Regions from separate parts of the Homo sapiens genome. Here region 2 is linked to region 1. The links are contacts of gene promoters, found by promoter capture Hi-C in human tissues and cell types (Jung and others, 2019). All regions are on one chromosome and are shown on one strand. Each heading gives the region's core, a stretch centred on a gene start or on the middle of the fragment in contact. The rest is flanking DNA. Distances are from core to core; before and after follow the strand shown.

Region 1 (5,855 bases), core at 2,556-5,055:
CACTTATGGAGCGCCTTCTGTATGCCGAGAACTAAGCCAGACTTTAGAGATGGTACAAATATGAGGAGGATACAGTCCCTTCTCAGGGAGCTCATAGTCTCATAAAGAAGATGAGCCATCCACACCCCCAAATACAAAGCACAAGGGGAGAAAAGATGCAGTGAGGTGAGGCCGAGGACCACGAGCTGTGGCCCCACTCACAGGCCTGAGGAGGACGCGGTGGAGGAGGGCAGTCCAGGCTCAGCTCCAACTTGATATTTTTCATTTTTTAAAATTATCAATGAGTACAAGGAAATACACCCTGTTCCACTATCCTCCTGTCCCTCTCCCAACCTACTGTCTCCATCTCACTGAGCAGAGGTAACTACTCTATGGAAAAAAAGAATACATATGTATAAATCTTGTTCCTGATATATTCTGTATGTTAAAGTGTTCAAATGAAAAACATTATATAGGTAACTTATAGTGCTGTTTTATACAATGGGTTTCATCTATAACATGCTTTGCAGCTTGAACCAGTCTCTGACCAAATTGAAGATATGTTCCCAAGTCAATACATTGTGTATTTGTGCACTTCTAGGGCACATTGCCAAACACAGAATAGCTGTGTCAAAGGATATGCTCAGTTTTAATTTTGACAAATATTCCCAAGTTGTCATCCAAAAACAGTCATGCATCCTTAGGGACAAGAATATGTTCTGAGAGATGCAATGTTAGGCAATTTCATTGCTGTGCAAACATCATAGAGCTACTTACACAAACTTAGATGGATGTAGTCTACTACACACCTAGGCTACATGGTATGCCCTATTGCTCCTAGGCTACAGACATGTACAGCATGTTACTGTACTGAATACTGTAAGCAAAGGTAATACAATGGTAAGAATTTGTGCATGTAAACATATCTAAACATAAAAAGGTACAGTAAAAATACAGTATCATAACCTTATGGAACCACCGTCATATATGCTGTCTGTCACTGATCAAACGTCACGATGCAGTGCATGGCTGTATGAGAGCAGCTGTTCCTCCACACTCTCACTTACACTGGACATTATCCATTTTTTTTAACCTTTGTCAATCTGAAAGGTGGAAAAGGCTCGTCTCAATGTGATTTTGATTTGCATTCCTTCACTGATGAAGTGTAGTTAAAATATTTTTTTCACGTGCTCGTTTGTGTTTTACATCTTTGAGCTGTCTGGAATTTATTTTGTCATAAGAATAGGACTTTATCTTTTCCAAATGGCAGCACTTGTTATTAAATAATTCATACCCAACTCTCAATTTTAGAAATAAAAGGAGGCCATCTCAATCTAAACCTCACACTATATACAAAAATTAATTCTGAAGGAATCATGGATTGAAGAGTAAAGCATAAAACTTTTAGAAGATAACATAGGAGCAAATCTTCAGTATTAGGACTAAACAAAGAGTTCTTAGGCAGGACATCAAAATCACATTCTGTAAAATTCAAAAATTCATAAATTGATCTTCAATGAAATTAAAATCTTTTGTTCTGTTGAAGATCCTGTTAGAGGGATGGAAACACAAGCTACAGACTGGGAGATAATATTTGCAAATAACCTACCAAACAAAGACTTACAAACAGCAATATATAAAGAACTATCATAACTCAATGGTTAAAAAATAAAAGAAAGAAAAATTCAATTATAATATGAGCAAAAGGCTTGAACAGATATTTCACCAAAGAGGAAATATGGATGGCAAACAAGCACATGACAAGGTATTCAACATCTCTAGGCATTTGTGAAATGCAAATTAAAAATTTAAACCACAATAAGGCCCAGCACAGTGGCTCACACCTGTAGTCTCAGCACTTTGGGTGGTGGAGGCGGAAGGATTGTTTGAGCCCAGGGCTTTGAGACCAGCCTGGGCAACAGGGTGAAACCTTATCTTTACAAAAACTACAAAAATTAACTGGGCAGGGTGGCACACACCTGTAGTCCCAGCTATTCAGGAGGCTGAGGTGGGAGAATCTCCTGAGCCCAGGAGGTTGAAGTTGCAGTGAGCCATGATCTCTCCACTGCACTCCAGCCTGGGCAACAGAGCAAGACCCTATCTCTAAATAAATAAATAAATGACGTCTGTAGTCTAGTTAACTGTAATGTCCCAACGTAAATTTCCTGTTTTCTACATTGTCCTACAGTTGTATAGATGTCTTTGGAGGACACTGGAGGTATTATTTTTGCAACTTCCTGTGAATCTACAATGATTCAAAAGAAAACATTAAAGAATGTTCTAATATAAAGAGACTTTGAAAAGATGAGAGAAGAAAACCAGCTTTGCCAAAGTCTTTCCCGTTGCACAGGTAGTTTTCTTTGGCGGTCGCTTTATCAGCAATAACCTATTAACTTTCCTTCCTCCAGAGACACATGACATACCATCCTTTTGAAAAGTTGCCAGTTGAATAGAAGCCGTCTTAGACCAGGACAGACAAAAAAGTTGCATTAAAAAAATGGTTCTAAAAAACATCAGCCTACCCTTTTTCCAGATTACCAACTGTTACCATTTAACCCATCGGCTTTATGGCGTGGGATCTATCAATCTGCATCCTTGTTTCAGAACCATTTGATGTAAGTTTCATAAATCTTGTGCCTTTGCTCCTACTTACTTCAGTGTTTATTTCCTAAAAATATTCTCTTGTACACTGACAGTACAATGTGCAATTTCAGTAAATTTAACATTAATTCAATACTTCCATCATCGACCTGACACTGAGACTCATGCCTGTAGTCCTGGCACTTTGAGAGGCCAAGGCAGGAGGATCACTTGAATCCAGGAAATCGAGGCTGCAGTGAGTTATGATGGCATCACTGCACTCCAGCCTGGGCGGCAGAGGGAGACCCTGTCCGTAAAAAAAAGAAGAGAAAAGACAAGGAAAGAAAATACTTCCATCATCTCTGTTCCACTTTCGTCTGTTGTCACGGTACCGTCCAGTCCAGTCACAGTACCGGTTGGACCAATCTGGCTAACCCATTGTTTAGCCAATGGGTTACATGTTAACAGTTGGTAATCTGCAAAAAGAGTATGCTGATGTTCTTTTGAACTACTTTTTTAAATGCAGTTTTTGCATTTGTCCTGGCCTAAAACGCCTTCCATCCGTCTGGAAACTTTTCAAAAGGATGGTATGTCATGTGTCTGGGGAGGAAGGAAAGTTAACAGGTTATTGCGGATAAAGGAACCACCAAAGAAAACCACTTCTGCAACGGGAAAAGGCTTTGGCAAAGGTGTTTTCCTTCTTTCAGCCTGGGGTCTGGCTGCACCTACTTGTCATGCCTCTTTGAGGTCGTAGATATTGCAGATCTGAGTTTGCACCATCTCTCCCAGAGAGAGAGAGCACCCAGAACTCTCACGGTACCGCGCGGCTGCAGTGACTGCGTGCTCATCCCCTGTAATTGGCTCTGACGGTCCTGAAGAGCTAACTGGACTGTTTGTCTTGATCGTCCCATCCCCAGGAGCTTCTCTCTGTTGCGGGTGGGTTGGGGCAGAGGAGCCCCGCTTTGGGGTGCGCTCCTGGCCTGGGAAAACGGCTCAGGGCGGAGGGAGGAGAGCTGGAGAAGGAGAGGAAATTGGGGAAGGAGAGGGAATTGGGGAAGGAGAGGGAACTGGGGAAGGAATCCCCTAGGGAGGAGCGGAGCGGGGCAGTGCTCAGGGCTCGCAGATCGGCGGGGTCACCTGGGGCTCAGGGCGGCCAATCCGCGGCGCGGCCCGTCCCGCGGCCAATGGGAGGGCGGCGCGGCCCGCTCCCCTGGGCTATAAGCGAGCCGGGAGGCGGAAAGTGAAAGCGGTGCGGGCCGGGCGGGTGCATTCAGGCCAAGGCGGGGCCGCCGGGATGCTCAGGGTTCCGGAGCCGCGGCCCGGGGAGGCGAAAGCGGAGGGGGCCGCGCCGCCGACCCCGTCCAAGCCGCTCACGTCCTTCCTCATCCAGGACATCCTGCGGGACGGCGCGCAGCGGCAAGGCGGCCGCACGAGCAGCCAGAGACAGCGCGACCCGGAGCCGGAGCCAGAGCCAGAGCCAGAGGGAGGACGCAGCCGCGCCGGGGCGCAGAACGACCAGCTGAGCACCGGGCCCCGCGCCGCGCCGGAGGAGGCCGAGACGCTGGCAGAGACCGAGCCAGGTAAGCGGCGAGGCCGGGGAAGGGGGGCAGCCCAAGGCGGACCCCCAGAGCTCGGGGTGCAGGGACGCGGGGCTCCGCGGCGACAGGCAGAGGGACCTTCCCGCCTCCGCAGCCACGCGCGCGCCCCCGGAATGAACCCTGAGCCCCAGCGTCAGGGCGGCGCAGGATTCTGACACCGCAGGACTCGCCCGGCTCCGTGCCCTCCGCTCCCTGGGGCTCAGAAGCCGGCGCGACTGCAGCGCCACCGCCCTCCACCGTCCCAGGAGCGGATCCCGCCCCGCGCCACCCGCGATCGGCGCCAGCCCCCCGGTAGTTATGAGAACTAATAATAACTTATTAACAGTGACAAAGCAGGGGTTGACCAGCAAAGCCTCCGTGTGCTTCCCAATCCCGTGGGCAGTAAAGCGGTATATTCGGGGTTCCCTCCGGTGTCCAGGAGAGAGAGTCCACTTATTTTCTTTCCTGTCACTTCTGATGAGGCGACCGAACGCCTCGTTTAGCGAAGAGGGAATTAAAGCCCAGAATGAGCCTGCCTCTGCGTCTCCAGTGGCACAAGCCCTCTCTTGCCCACCTGGATCCTAACACCGGATGTCTTTTGGTCTGGCCTTCCCGGGTATCTTGTTCCACGGCATTTTCCCTGCCTCCCTCTCCCGCCTCTCCTCAGCACACAGATCCAGAATCCCCATATAATTCTACTAGACAGTAGGGAGAAAGTTCAACCACGAAACGTCTCTAACTTTGGGTTCTTGATGATTCTTAGCAAATGAATGCGTAATAAACATATTTACTCACTCTTCACTCCGGAGAGCTCCTTAGTCATGTGAAAAAAGTGAAATGTATCCACGATGACAGTGGGCTGTTTGTTCACTCACTAAAGAGATAAGGGTGGATTGAATTCTGTTCTCTTCCCTGCTAACATGTAACTTTTGTCTTCCCATCCCTCCTTCCCCACTCTCCTTTCCAGAAAGGCACTTGGGGTCTTATCTGTTGGACTCTGAAAACACTTCAGGCGCCCTTCCAAGGCTTCCCCAAACCCCTAAGCAGCCGCAGAAGCGCTCCCGAGCTGCCTTCTCCCACACTCAGGTGATCGAGTTGGAGAGGAAGTTCAGCCATCAGAAGTACCTGTCGGCCCCTGAACGGGCCCACCTGGCCAAGAACCTCAAGCTCACGGAGACCCAAGTGAAGATATGGTTCCAGAACAGACGCTATAAGACTAAGCGAAAGCAGCTCTCCTCGGAGCTGGGAGACTTGGAGAAGCACTCCTCTTTGCCGGCCCTGAAAGAGGAGGCCTTCTCCCGGGCCTCCCTGGTCTCCGTGTATAACAGCTATCCTTACTACCCATACCTGTACTGCGTGGGCAGCTGGAGCCCAGCTTTTTGGTAATGCCAGCTCAGGTGACAACCATTATGATCAAAAACTGCCTTCCCCAGGGTGTCTCTATGAAAAGCACAAGGGGCCAAGGTCAGGGAGCAAGAGGTGTGCACACCAAAGCTATTGGAGATTTGCGTGGAAATCTCAGATTCTTCACTGGTGAGACAATGAAACAACAGAGACAGTGAAAGTTTTAATACCTAAGTCATTCCTCCAGTGCATACTGTAGGTCATTTTTTTTGCTTCTGGCTACCTGTTTGAAGGGGAGAGAGGGAAAATCAAGTGGTATTTTCCAGCACTTTGTATGATTTTGGATGAGTTGTACACCCAAGGATTCTGTTCTGC
Region 2 (6,220 bases), core at 1,536-4,035, 140 kb after region 1:
AAGGAAAGAGAGAGGACAGGAAAGTGTCCAGCTCTCCAGTTACCTTTCAAAAGAGACAAGAAGTGACACACGAATCTGAGCCTCCAGAGCAGGCCCTGGTACTACAAGATCCCAGGTCCATCTCTGACCTTTGGAAGGCACAGTTGTCGCCTACACCATCCTCAAGTCTCTCTTTGCCCTACAAGTTGTGACCTGGACCAGGAAAGCTCACTCAGGCAAACCCTAAACCTGCACACGTCACATGAGCATGTTTTATTTTTAGCAACTTACCTGGCCACTGCTCCACCAGCCCCTACTGCCACCTATTATGAGCCAACGATGAGCAGAAATGCCTCTGATGTGACCGCTTAGCCTCCCTTCCTCCTGTTTCCACCCTCCTCGGGTCCTTAGTTCGACAGTGAAAGTTCCCACCTGGGAGGAGGCTGGGCTTCTCTGAAAGCCACCAGGCAGTCAAACAGGGAATTAAGATTTCAGAACAGAGAGGAGAAGAGCTGCCACCTGATGACCCCAAACCACAGACACTTTCTCAGCTCAGAGCAGAACCCCAGATTAGAGTGTCAGTGGCATGCAGGCACCCTGGGGATGGCCAGGCACCTTGGAAATAGGCTGTGATGTTCTCAGGGACACAGAGAATCATACAGTTTAGTTGTAACATCCACATCTCCTTCAGGTCTAGATAGAGATACTGAGATATTCCTTCCTCGGGGGGCCTTTCCCAACTCCTCCCCGTGAGGTGCAGGATCCCTGAAGACTGAGCTCATCACTCCTGAAAGGAATGATTCATTGGAGATCTGTCCTTCCTGCCACAGAGGGGCTCCCATGGGGAATGCCTGGGTTGTGTCAAGCCTCCGTCTCCTTAGTGCCCAGCACCCACAGTCATACCCCATAGGCCCCATTCCTTAATTACAGTCACGCATCGCAAATGACGGGGATATGTTCTGAGATATGCATTGTTAGGTGACTTCATCCTTCTGTGAACATCACAGAGTGTACTTACACAAATTGAGAGGGGATAGCTACCGCACACCTAGGCTGTACGCTATAGTGTGTTGCTCCTAGGCTACAAACCTGTACAGCATGCTACTGTACTGAATACTGCAGGCAACTGGAATACCATGGTATTTGTTATCTAAATGAATCTAAATATACCAAAAGTACAGTGAAGGCTGGGCGCGGTGACTCACAACTGTAATCCCAGCACTTTGGGAGGCTAGGGCAGGTGGATCACTTGAGGTTGGGAGTTCGAGACCAGCCTGGCCAACATGGTGAAACCCCATCGCTACTAAAAATACAAAATTAGCCGGGCGTGGTGGCACACACCTGTAATCCCATCTACTCGGGAGGCTGAGGCAGGAGAATTGCTTGAACCCGGTAGGCAGAGGTTGCGGTGAGCCGAGATTCTGCCACTGCATTCCAGCCTGGGCAACAAAAGTGAAACTCCGTCTCAATAACAAAAAAAAAGTACAGTGAAAATACCACATCGTTTTTTGCTGGGCGCAGTGGCTCACGCCTGTAATCCCAGCATCTTGGGAGGCCGAGGCAAGCAGATCAAAACAAGGTCAGGAGATCGAGACCATACTGGCTAACACAGCGAAACCCCATCTCTACTAAAAATACAAAATTTAGCTGGGCGTGGTGGCAGGCGCCTGTAGTCCCAGCAACTCGGGAAGCTGGGGAAGGAGAATGGCATGAAGCCAGGAGATGGGATTACAGGCATGAGCCATCACAACCAGCCAAAAGATTTTTTTTAATGGTACACCTGTGTAGGGCATTTACCATGAATGGAGCCTGCAGAACTGGAAGTTGCTCTGGGTGAGTTTAAGTGAGTGGTGGTGAGTAAATGTGAAGGCCTGGGACATTCCTGTGCACTACCGTAGACTTTAAAAACACTGTACACTTAGGCTACACTAAATTTATTTTTTAAACTTTTGCTTTCTTCCATAATAAATTAAATTTCAAGGTTGGGCGTGGTGACTCATACCTGTAATCCTAGCACTTTGGGAGGTCGAGGCAGGAGGACTGCTTGAGGCCAAGAGCTTGAGACCACCTGGCCAACATTGCGAAACTCCTTCACTACACCAATTTAAAAATTAGCTGTGTGGTGGTGCGCACCTGTAATCCCAGCTACTCAGGAGGCTGAGGAGGGAGGATTCCTTGTACCCAGGAGTTCGAGGCTGCAGTAAACTATGATCTCAACACTGCACTCCAGCCTAGGCGACAAGGCAAGACCCTGTCTCTAAAAAAAAAAATAAATAAAATTAATTAGTTACATTTAGCTTACTGTAATGTTTTTGTTTTATAAATTTCAATTTTTTGACTTTTTGACTCTTGTAATAACACTTGGCTTAAAACACAAAACACATTGTACAGCTCTACAAAAAATATTTTTTCTCTATATCCTTATTCTATAAGCTTTTCCTTTTAACATTTTTTATTTTTTTACTTTTTAAACTTTTTTCTTAAACATACACATTAGCCTAGGCTTACAGAGGGTCAGGATCATCAATATCACTGTCTTCCACCTCCACATCTTGTCCCAATGCAGCTGGCACCTCCTGTGATCGCAATGCCTTCTTCTGGAATCCCTCCTGAAGGACCTGCCTGAGGCTCTTTTACAATTAACTTAAAAAAAAAAAAAAAAAAAAGGCCAGGGGCGGTGGCTCACACCTGTAATCCCAACACTCTGGGAGGCTGAGGAGGGCGGGTCACCTGAGGTCAGGAGTTGGTGACCAGCCTGGCCAACATGGTGAAACCCTGTCTCTACCAAAAATACAAAATTAGCCGTGCGTGGCGGTGCATGCCTGTAATCTCAGCTACTCTGGGAAGCTGAGGCAGGAGAATCGCTTGAACCCAGGAGGTGGAGGTTGCAGTAAGCCGAGATCGCGCCACTTCGCTCCAGCCTACAGGACAAGAGTGAAACTCCATCTCAAAAAAAAAAAAAAAAAAGTAGGAGTACACTCTAAAGTAATGACAAAAAGTATAGCATAGTAAATACATAAACCAGTAGCAGAGTCTTTCATTATTATTTGCAAGCATTACCTACTAATTGTGTGTGCTATACTTTTACATGACTGGCAGCATAGTAGGTTTACACCAGCATCATCCCAAACACGGGCGAAATGCAATGCGTTGTGATGCCCCTAGGTAATAGGAATTTTTCAGCTCCACTATAATCTATGGGATCACTGTCTCATCACATATGGAGTCCATAGTTGACCGAAACATCGTTATGTGGTGCTGACTGTAATTCAGTCATTCAATGAAGGGCAGGGGATGAAGCTACATTTTCACAAATACCATGTGAATCTTCCTTGGGAGCCACATTACTGTGAATCAGGCTAACGCAAGCCAACGTTTAGCAAACGAACCACAGAGGCGGGTGACTAAGGAAAGCAGCTTTCTTGATTCTTCAGTTAAAGACACACCCTGGGTTTACCCCTTCCACCCTCATATGTATATACACGCACTGGCAGCATCTTCTTGCCTTTGAAAAGATGTCCCCACCTCTGGTCTGACTCCCTGGATCTGATCATCAGCCGGCCACTCAGCAACTTTAATCCAGGCTCCCAACAGCCCTAGGACACCCGTGATCCACAGGAGGGCAGAGAAAGTGGGGAGGGGAGCACTGCGTATCAAGGACGTGCCGTGAGTCAGAGGCACTGCCCGCGGGTCCCGCTGCCCGGCAGGTCTGGCTGGCCAGCTTCCTGCAGGCTGCAAACCTCTCTCTCCATGTTCTGCTTCTAAAGCCAGGCCTTAGGCAATGCAAGGCGCCCGCAAAACCCTCAAGATGGGCACCGTGGGGACCCTGAGACAAAGGCACTTGTGTGCGTTACCTCCTTCTCCTCTTAAGCAAGTGAGGAAAACAGTGACGGGAAAGGCCAAACTGGGGAAGAGCCCAGGCGTCTGCAAACACACACAGTCATTCTTCCGGGATCATTAGTCACCTTCCTGCTCCTGGGGGACCCCTCCTCACAGCGTCCCCAGACTCATCTGCCTGGTGCTCAAAGGGACAGACTTTCTTGGAAAATAAGAGTAAGGATATAAAATCCCACAGACGTCCTCAAACTAACAGCCCTGGGTACACCTCCCTGAAGGTGGGCTCATCCGGTCCTACCCTGCTGGTTTCTGCTACACGCAGCCACTACTATCCCCTGTCTACATTACCACGAAATGAGCATGCTGTGAGCAGCACTGGCTCTTCCTCATTAGCCAGCCAAATGGGCGGCAGCAGACAGCCACCCTGTCTTGGCTCAACAGATGGGAGACACTGTAAGGAGAGAGGTTAAGTGCCCAAGGCCAGGCAGCTGCACTGAGTCCTAGTGCTGGAATGAGAGCCTGGATTTTCCATTCCAATGAGCTAACCTTACCCCTCCCACAGGATCCCAGTGTGATAATAAATACCATGACCTAGCACCTGCACAGAGAGCTTTATACTTTTAAAGCGGTGTTCCCTGCAAGCCTGCCTGTATTTTCTCACTACATGCGTAAGCGGACCTGCCAGGGGAGGCAGGATGGGCACCGTTACCCCTCCTTATTTCAGATAAGAAAACTGCAGCCTTAGTGGACCACGGAACTATGATGTAGTGCTCTTCCCAGTAAGTGACTTATATACATATACTATGATCTGGAAAGGAATCTTCACGACTAGTCCGAATTCAAAACACTATATTGAGTGCAACTTCGACTCACTGCTGAAATGAGAAGGTGTCACAGCAACTGCAATTTGTTTCAGAGAGAGAAGCCAGACGCAGCCAAAAATATCCTGTGGCAATAACCATATGTCATCATCCTTCTTCCTTGCTTGCTGGAGTACTTGCCCAAAGAACTCCTAACTATACGTTAGAGCCCTGCATTCTGTGCCACACTTTCTGGGTGCCATGATTTCCTGGAGTTACTCCCTCGACTCAACTCTGGTTCCTCCATCCCAACAATGCAGCTGGGCCCCATCATCAATCTCAGCCCTTTCTCATATTCTAGAATCCAGCTCAAGGGCTCTGCTGCCATTAACATCTGAGTCTGCATCCAACATCCTACTGGCTTGCTCCAGCCTAATTCCCTTCCTCTCTTCTCTCGCTTTCAGCTCTGGAGCAGAAAAAGGCCCGAGTTCTAGGGCATGTAATTTTTCTGAAGTTCAGTTTTCTCAAATATGAAATGAGAAACAACACCTGCCTTTTCTCACCTTCAAAGGAGAGCTAAGAGGATCAAATGACCAAATAAAAGCTAACAATACAAAAATAATATAAAATTAACAATTGCACCAGCAATATATAAACATACCCAGGCATTGAAGTAATACTTTTAGAAATAACAAGAGGAGCTGATATTAATGGGGCATTTGCCATGTGCCTTAACATTCTAGGTGTATCATCTCAATTAATTCTCACAGCAACACTGAAATGGGTAAAGTTATTAGCCCCATTTTATAGATGAGAAAAATAAGGCAAAGAGAGGTTTCAGGAACTTGACCAGGTGCCACTCCAGGCAGTCTGGCTGCAGAGGTTGTGCTGTTAACCTAAACAGCTCTAATAATCAAGCACATTGCCTCTGATACAATCTGTCATTAGCTTTGCATGTTAAGGTTTGCAAGAGCCATTCACAAATCTATCTCACCTAAGCTTCCCAACAGCCCTGTCAAAAAGGTAAAGTAGATGACACTAGTCTAGATTCACAAGGAGAAAACTAGCCCAGAGAAATGATTAGCCCAAGGTTTCCAAGCTGGTTAATGGCAGGACCAGGACTTAAATTCACGGGGCCCACACCCCGCCCCAGTTTGGTGACCTTTCTAGGGCCTCAACACCAGCATAAGTCTGACACACAAACACTCCTCCGGGTCCCCCACCCACAGCAGTGTCTCAAATGCACCCTTTCTGGTCATGCCAGGGAATAAACACTGTTGGCTAAATATCAGCCAGGGTCTCTCTTTCACCAGTGACAGCCATCACAGACCACGTGGCCAGCCAGAACTCAAGGTCCCAGAGCCTTCCAAGTGGCTCTCTGGATGGATCTAATGGATCCAGAGGCTCGGTGGACCCGGAAGAAGTTCCCTCAGTGACACAAGGCTGCAGTCCCTCAACTTGACCCACACGGCCAGACGTTTCCTAGACCTGTTATGCAACCCTTGCTTCAAGCAAGCTGCTGCTGGGATTTCTCCCTATTTCAACATGTTTTGTTTTCTCTTCAGAGAGAAAGCATGAATGTGAAACCATAACACCTCTTAGTA

Evidence for each region. Contacts are between HindIII fragments. The study calls those that stand out against the background at their distance.
Region 2: a fragment that was not itself captured here is called in contact with the fragment with the promoter of NKX3-1 in region 1 in 8 of the 25 tissues and cell types used here (H1 embryonic stem cells, IMR-90 fibroblasts, aorta and 5 more).

Annotation. Positions count from the first base shown.
Region 1 is chr8:23,680,888-23,686,742 of GRCh38, reverse strand. NKX3-1 (NK3 homeobox 1) reads left to right here and starts at 3,805. Exons shown (of 2, transcript NM_006167.4): 1 at 3,805-4,139; 2 at 5,104-5,855. The coding sequence starts at 3,854. The coding sequence ends at 5,522. All of the region lies in intron 3 of LOC107986930 (a long non-coding RNA gene), which reads right to left. RefSeq lists silencers at 3,624-4,133, 4,174-4,223. The HindIII fragment of the contact is 20,085 bases long and covers 1-5,855 here.
Region 2 is chr8:23,539,104-23,545,323 of GRCh38, reverse strand. All of the region lies in intron 1 of SLC25A37 (solute carrier family 25 member 37), which reads right to left. Among named protein-coding and RNA genes, the nearest start is that of SLC25A37, 13 kb to the right of the region's middle. RefSeq lists an enhancer at 2,272-3,053. The HindIII fragment of the contact is 7,289 bases long and covers 1-6,220 here.